3 separate regions of the Homo sapiens genome follow, and all the other regions are linked to region 1. The links are contacts of gene promoters, found by promoter capture Hi-C in human tissues and cell types (Jung and others, 2019). All regions are on one chromosome and are shown on one strand. Each heading gives the region's core, a stretch centred on a gene start or on the middle of the fragment in contact. The rest is flanking DNA. Distances are from core to core; before and after follow the strand shown.

What was found. The method cuts DNA at HindIII sites, captures the fragments that hold promoters and counts their contacts. A contact is called where the count stands out against the background at its distance.
Region 2: a fragment that was not itself captured here is called in contact with the fragment with the promoter of PDE2A in region 1 in 1 of the 25 tissues and cell types used here (spleen).
Region 3: a contact is called between a fragment that was not itself captured here and the fragment with the promoter of PDE2A in region 1, in 2 of the 25 tissues and cell types used here (adrenal gland and lymphoblastoid cells).

The regions. Positions count from the first base shown.
Region 1 is chr11:72,673,164-72,675,674 of GRCh38, reverse strand. It overlaps PDE2A (phosphodiesterase 2A), which reads left to right and starts at 1,253. Exons shown (of 31, transcript NM_002599.5): 1 at 1,253-1,538. The coding sequence starts at 1,468. RefSeq lists enhancers at 1-29, 180-804, 805-1,431, 1,432-2,057, 2,058-2,511. The HindIII fragment of the contact is 13,863 bases long and covers 1-2,511 here.
Region 2 is chr11:73,116,628-73,119,138 of GRCh38, reverse strand. The region is part of intron 2 of FCHSD2 (FCH and double SH3 domains 2); the gene reads left to right. Among named protein-coding and RNA genes, the nearest start is that of FCHSD2, 24 kb to the left of the region's middle. The HindIII fragment of the contact is 4,925 bases long and covers 1-2,511 here.
Region 3 is chr11:72,250,848-72,253,358 of GRCh38, reverse strand. It overlaps the pseudogene LOC220077. Among named protein-coding and RNA genes, the nearest start is that of PHOX2A, 7.9 kb to the right of the region's middle. The HindIII fragment of the contact is 7,877 bases long and covers 1-2,511 here.

The DNA.
Region 1 (2,511 bases), core at 4-2,503:
CTACCCTGGAATATACCCTCTTCTGCCTTAAAAGACCCAGCTTGGACCCTCTCTTCCAGAAATGCTTGCTAACCGCCCCCCCACCACCCAAACTAGGTCAGGGGTCCCTCTGGGCTTCACAGACCCTGTGCTTCTTTCTGTCACAGCCTGCAAGTCTCCCCTCCCCACTCCCCAGCCCGAGTGCTTCTCTGAGACAAGGGATAGTGTGAGCCATGAGCTCAGCCACTGGTAGGCCAATGAATAAGTAAGTTAATGGTGAAGCCAGGATCCAAATCCCCATTTCCTGCCTCAAGGTGTGGAGCTGTTTCTCCTGCATACAATAGTAGCTCTGCTGTGACAACTCTCTATCTGTCCTAGGGCCTAAAATGCCTCTATTTCACTAGGTTATAGCTTTATCCTAGGGAGTCCTCTTTGGAAGCAGGGTGGGGGTGCAACAGGCCTTCCCCCATGCCTGTAGTCTGTGAGCAGCGAAGGCCATGTGGGGCAGGCTGTGGCCTAGGTCTCCACAGATCCTGGTAGAAGTCCATGCTCACGCATCAGCTCCAAGTCCCAGCTAAACCAAGCCACCAAGAGGTGGGCCCTGTGACAAGGCTCTGAGTCCAAAGGCCATCAGTAAAGCCCCCTAAGTCTTCCGTGGACCCAGCTCCAGGCTGGGATGCACGCTAGGAGATGATACACACCGGGTGAGGGAGCCCAGAGGAGAGGGCAGCTAGCTGTGCATGGAGGCCTGATCTCTCAGACTTGAGGGCACAAGCGTGTCCCCTCATCCTGAAGGCTTCTGCGATGGGGCAGCAGAGGGTCTGGGTCTGCTGCCCCTCAAGTCCCCAGCCCCATCCTAGCCCATGAGGATTGTAAATCCCTCGTCCTCTCCCCTCTCTCCTCTGTCAGCCACTCCCCTTTCCCCCTACCCCACTCTCTTTCTATTTCTGCCTCTGATTTTTTTTCCTTTTCTGCCTTTGTTCCTCTGTGTGTGTGTTTCTCTATGCCTCTCTGGTCTCTTTGTACTTCCATCTTGATCTCGCTAAGGCTCTGATCCCTCTCTCCTCTCCCTCTTCATGTGTTACTGTCCCCCTTCCTGTCTCTGTTTATCTCTCAGTCTCTCTGTCTGTGAGTCTTTTTTCCTCTCTCCCAGTCAGACTCTCTCTCTACCCCTCCCTCTCTCCCTCTCTCCCTCTCTGTCTGGGCCTCTCTCTGTTCCTCCTCCCTCCTCCCTCCCCCTTCTGCATTATCAGACCTGCTCCAACCTCCTCCCAGAGCCAGCCGAGCAGCAGAGGCAGTGGCAGCGGGAGAGGCGGGAGCAGCGGGGCAGCAGAGCTGGATTGGGGTGTTGAGTCCAGGCTGAGTAGGGGGCAGCCCACTGCTCTTGGTCCCTGTGCCTGCTGGGGGTGCCCTGCCCTGAACTCCAGGCAGCGGGGACAGGGCGAGGTGCCACCTTAGTCTGGCTGGGGAGGCGGACGATGAGGAGTGATGGGGCAGGCATGCGGCCACTCCATCCTCTGCAGGAGCCAGCAGTACCCGGCAGCGCGACCGGCTGAGCCGTGAGTATAGTGAGGGGCTGGGGTGGTGAGCGGCTGTGAGAGGTGCCACAGACAGGGTCCTGGGAGTCCCTCCAAGGAGCTGGGGTTGGCATGGAGCTGAGCCACGTGGAAGGATCGATCCTGTTCCTGGGCACCCCTCCTCCCCGCGTTGCCAGACTGCAGCCTGGGGTGGGGGCAGGTTACCTCTGAGCAGAATGAGGGTGTCTAACGTCAACCTAGTAGGTGATGAGGCTGGGGTCCCATGGAAGGGGCTGCTGGTTGGAGGAGGGGCTGATAATGAACCTGAACCGGTTCTTCAAGGGCTGAGGGTGTATGTGGGGAGGGGGAGGTCTGCCAAGTAGTTGGGAGGAGCTCTCGGGGCTGCAATAGGCTGGTTCAGGACCCGGAGAGGGAGAGTGTCTTGGCCCACCAAGGCTATGTGTGTGTGAAGGAGGTGGGGAGGGGGAAAGATGGAGAAAATATGAATAAGAGTGGCCCTGGAGCAAGAGAGGGTTAGAGGTAACCACCTTCCATGGAATTGGGAATTGGGGTTCAGGGACACCACTTTATGAAACTTTACCCCAAAGCGTCTGTCCCAGGATAGGGTTCTACGGAGCCAGATGGAATATGGTGCCAGCCTCGTGTGTGTCCACGTGCAGGGGGGTGCATGTGCAAGTGAGTGGGGGGCGCCGTGGCGACACCCCTCTACTAAGGGCTGCCGAGGTGGTAGGCAGGGTATGTGTGTGTGTGTGTGTGTGTATACATGTGGAATGTAAGGGACATGTTGGGTGTAGAGGGGCCTGTAGAGCTCTAGGGTCCTTGGTGGTTGGATGTAAAGCAGCCTGTCAGAGTTTGTGATCATCCCTGTGTGAGTGAGAGTTTATTCGCATGTGTCTGAGTGTGAGTGCAGGTTGGTCTGCATATGTATGTAGGTGTGTCTATTAGGTTGAGTTTGTATATTATGTGTGTTGTGTCTGCAAAATAGAGTGAATCA
Region 2 (2,511 bases), core at 4-2,503, 440 kb before region 1:
GTAGAGACAGGATCTCATCATGTTGCCCAGGATAGCCCCGAACTCCCAAGCTTGAGCTATCCATCTGCCTTGGCCTCCCAAAGTGGTAGGATTACAGACGTGAGTCACCGCGCCTGGCCTTTAGAGAATATGCATTCTTTTCAAACAAAAATTAATTATTTATTTATTAGCCCATAAAAAGAGTCTCAAATAATTCTGTGGAATTGATATCATACATGTTGTGTAGTATGTGTCTAAGAGAGGGCTCAGGAACCAAATGTGGTTTTCCCCTAGTTGTATGACCTTGGGTAAGTTACTTATGTGCTTCAATTTTCTCATCTGTAAAACAGAAATGGTAATAGTGGTCTCTCAGAGTTGTGAGGGCTGGCATTCAGAACAATGCATTACACGTGGTAAGGGCTCAGTTAGTGTTTGCCATCATCATTATAGTATCATCATATTCTCTGATCACATGCAATGAAAATAGAAATCAGTAATGAAGAGATAAACATCCTCTTCCTTACACCAAAAAGAAAAACCTCCAAATATACCATTCAGCAATAAAAATGAGTGAATTATGGATACACACATCAATGTGGGTGAATCTCAGAAACATTCTTAGTGAAAGAATTCAGATACAAGAATATATACTGTATACTATACTCCAGAATTATATACTGAAAAGTTCTAAAACAGGCAGAACTAATTTGTGGTGGTGGAGAAGTCAGTACAGTGGTTTCCTCTGGTGTTTAAGGGTAGGAATTGACTAAGATGGGGCATGAGGAAACTTTTTGGGATGATAGTGCCATTCTGTGTCCTTTGTTTTTGTTTTTGTTTTTTTGAGATGGAGTCTTGCTCTGTCACCCAGGCTGGAGTGCAGTGGCACAGTCTCGGCTCACCGCAGTCTCTGCCTGCTGAGTCCAAGCAATTTTCCTGCCTCAGCCTCCCAAGTTGCTGGGATTATATGCACCTGCCACCATACCCTACTAATTTTTATATTTTTAGTAGAGATGGGGTGTTACCATGTTGGCCAGGCTGGTCTCGGGAATGCGTGACCTCCAGTGATCTGCCCACCTTGGCCTCCCAAAGTGCTGGGATTACAGGTGTGAGCCACTGGGCCTGGCCCCATTCTATGTCTTGATAGGGATTTGGGTTTCATAGGTATGTACATTTGTCAAAACTCAGAAAATGTATATATAATATGTGTGCATATGATTTTAAGTAGTTTTACATAAAAAGATAAGCAAATATTGGATGCTGGTTAACACTAAGCATGCTGAAATATTTAGAGGGAAGAGTATTATTGTCTACAATTTGCTTTAAAGACACCAAAAATAAGGTGGATTAATTAATGGCTAGGGAGATGGATAAATGGATAGATATGTGATAAAGCAAGTCTAATAGAATTTTGTGGCAGAATCTAATGGCGGCTATATGGATGTTAGCTGTAAAATTCTTTACAATGTGATTGAAAAATTTTGCAATAATCTGTTGAAGCTTTCTTCCCATTCCCCTACTTGTGCTTGCAAACTAAAAACAAACAAAACCACTACTAACTGAGTTAAAGTAGAAATTATAATGAGAATTACTAAATACCACACAATGAAAATGAATGCCCTATATAAACAAACTTGTAGGGTATGATTCAAAAGGAAATTTATAGCTCTTAATGAATTTGTTAGAAAATAGGACAGATTGAAAGGTAGTGGGTTCATCTCAATAAATTAGGAAAAAACCCAAAATATGCCTAAAAGCCTAATAGGATGGAAAAATAATAAAATATAAATCATGCATTATTATGTAGTATTTAAGAGTGTGGACTCTTGAACCAGATTGCCTGATTGTGAATTCTTAGTTCTCCACTTCCTGCTTGTCCAAACTTGGTTACTTAACCCGTCTGTGTCTTCTTAGCTTCCTTATCTACAAAATGAAGATAATAATAGAATCAAATTCATAGGTTTGTGAAGATTGAATAAGTTAATATGTTAGTACATGTAGAATGTATTTGTTATAAGTACCAGCTTATAAATACCAGCTTCTGTTATTGATAAGTAGAAAGATGAATGGAAAACAAAAATACGTATAATCAATAGGCCAACAGCTAGTTTTTTGAAAAGACCAATATGATACAGAAAACTCAGGAAAAAGGAGTAATAAAAATCAATATGCTAAAAATGAAACAGAGATATAACAATAGTGATTTTTTTTGGGGAAAAATGGAAAGGTTTTACATGAAAAAATATAATTACTCTTACCGAAGAATAAAGAGGAACTTGAATTGACCATGAAACAATTTGAGTTCATAACTAAAAAAAGAGATATGGGCCAGGCGCTGTGGCTCATGCCTGTAATCCGTGCACTTTGAGAGGCCAAGTTGGGAGATTGCTTGAGGCCAGGAGTTCGAGACTAGCCTGGGCAACATGGCGAGATCCTGTCCCTAATAAAAATAAAAAGCAATTAGCTGGGCATGGTGGTGTATGCCTGTAGTCCCCGCTACTTGGGAGGCTGACGCGGGAGCTTGTGCCCAGGATT
Region 3 (2,511 bases), core at 5-2,504, 420 kb after region 1:
CCCAAGAGGGAAGAATGGTGCTGGATGACCACTCCATAATTGTTCATTATGGCAGCCCATTGGCAGGTTCCTTCCCATGCACAATAACTTGGTGTATTAGTCTGTTCTCACACTACTGATAAAGACATATCCGAGACTGGATAATTTAAAGGAAAGAACCTTTTTTTTTTTTTCTTCTGAGATGGGGTCTTACTCTGTCGCCCAGGCTGGGGTGCAGTGGCATGATCTCGGCTCACTGCAACCTTCGCCTCCTAGGTTCCAGCGATTCTCCTGCCTCAGGCTTCCGAGTAGCCGGGACTACAGGCGTGGCACCTCCATGCCCGGCTAATTTTTTTTATATTTAGTAGAGACGGGGTTTCACCATGTTGGCCAGGCTGGTCTGGAACTCCTGACCTTAGGTGATCCACCCACTTCGGCCTCCCAAAGTGCTGGGATTACAGGCATGAGCCACCGCACTCGGCCAGGAAAGAGGTTTAATGTACTCACCGTTCCACATAGCTGGAGAGTCCTCACAGTCATGGCGGAAGGCAAATGAGCAGCAAAACCACGTCTTACATTGCGGCAGACAGGAGCGCTTGCGCCGGGGAACTCCTATTTATAAAACCATCAGATCTCGTGAGACTTATTCACTACCACAAGAACAGCACAGGAAATACTCGTCCCCATGATTCAATTACTTCCCATCGGGTCTCTCCCACAACACGTGGGAATTATGGGAGCTATAATTCAAGATGAGATTTGGGTAGGGACACAGCCAAACCATATCACCTGGATAAGCTTGTCAGAGCATAGCAACGTTGGTAGGGTCAAACTTTGTTTTTTCTTTCCCCTTTTTAAAGGAAGCAACAAGACTTCTCTGTACCATTGTCTTACAAAAACAACTAAGACATTCTAAAGAGAAATCCCCCCTCTCCCCAGGTAAGTTTCCATGTGCCCACCAGACTGGGAAATCCTTAAAGAAAGCATCCCGCCAGCACGGTGGCTCACGCCTGTAATCACAGCACTTTGGGAGGCCGAGGCGGGTGGATCACCTGAGGTCAGGAGTTCAAGACCAGCCTGGGCAACATGGTGAAACCCCCGTCTCTACTAAAAATACAAAAATTAGCTAGGCACGATGGCACGTGCCTGTAATTCCAGCTACTCGGGAGGCTGAGGCAGGAGAATCGCTCGAGCCCAGCAGGCGGAGGTTGCAGTGAGCCGAGATTGTGCCACTGCACTCCAGCCTGGGTGACAGAGCGAGACTCCGTCTCAAAAAAAAAAAAAGAAGTTTCATTACTTGATGGAAGTTATATTGGATGTCTGATCAAGCTCAGCTTCTGAGCATAATTGAATAACGATGACACTGAAGACATCACTTTGGAGGGTACAAAGATGCATTTCGATGCTAGGGAGGAGCTGTGGCTCCGTGTGCTCCCCCAGAGGAGAGGAGGGCTGGCAGGAGTGCACTGGAGTAAGAAGCCAGCATAGTGGCCACACTCTGAGCCCAGGACATTCTTGCTCAGATTTCTGAGGGGAGGCTAAGATCAGTGTTTCTGGCAGAAGTGAGAATAAAGTGGTGACACCTGGGAATCCCCAGGATACCACTCTCCAAATGATCACTGGCAAAAAGAGTTCTCCAGGGCACGGGTCCTTCCTCAACCGCTTCCACTGCCTGAGCTCACAGACTAAGTTAATGTCAGAGCAGGGAACGAAGCAGAAGATCCAGAGCAGTCCCCACTATATCTGTCCACAAGGATCCTTTTACCTGCCACTCCTTCTGTGGGGGACTCCTCCTCTGACACATGCTCATTGGCTTTACTTTTACTCTTTCTATAGGATCCCTCGCTGGGCCTTGGTCTCTTCATCTGCAAAAATGAAGCCATCACGCTGGGTAACTCTGCAGGGCCCTGATGCCTTCTGAATCTTTCAGGTAAAGGTGATGCTGTGGTGCATCGTGTCTGGGTTATATATGCAAGTTTCAGGAGTAACAGATCAGAGGGAGCCTGGCCAGAGTCTGGTGTGGATCTATCAGTGCCACAGTACTCAGTCACTTGATAAGAGGGAGAAGGGGGGAAGCAACCGCTGGGGGCCATGGACGGAGCTATGACAGAAGGGCCGCTCTTTTCGCAGAGTCAGCACTTTGGGACCAAGAGGTGGAGGAAGACCTGGGCCATGCTCTACCCGGCCAGTCCCCATGGCTAGCGCGGCTCAAGTTCTTTGACCATAAGGGGTCGAGCTCTGGGAGTGGCCGAGGGAGCTCGTGCTGCCTGGACTGCAAGGTGATCCATCTGGCGAAGTGTGTGAGTTTGGTCCCCGTGGCCGTGGAGAGCCTCCCTGAGCCCAGCGCCACTGCCTTCCGCCTGGACACTGCACAGCACTAGCACCTGCTGGCTGTTGATGTGCCGTCCAGTGCAGCCTGGTTGCAGACGCTGTGCCAAAACCCCCTTCGGAAAGGCAGCTGGACTCTGGAACCTACCAATAACCCACCTGAGCTTTCTGCCCTGGAGATGCTGGAGAACTCCTTGTGCAGCC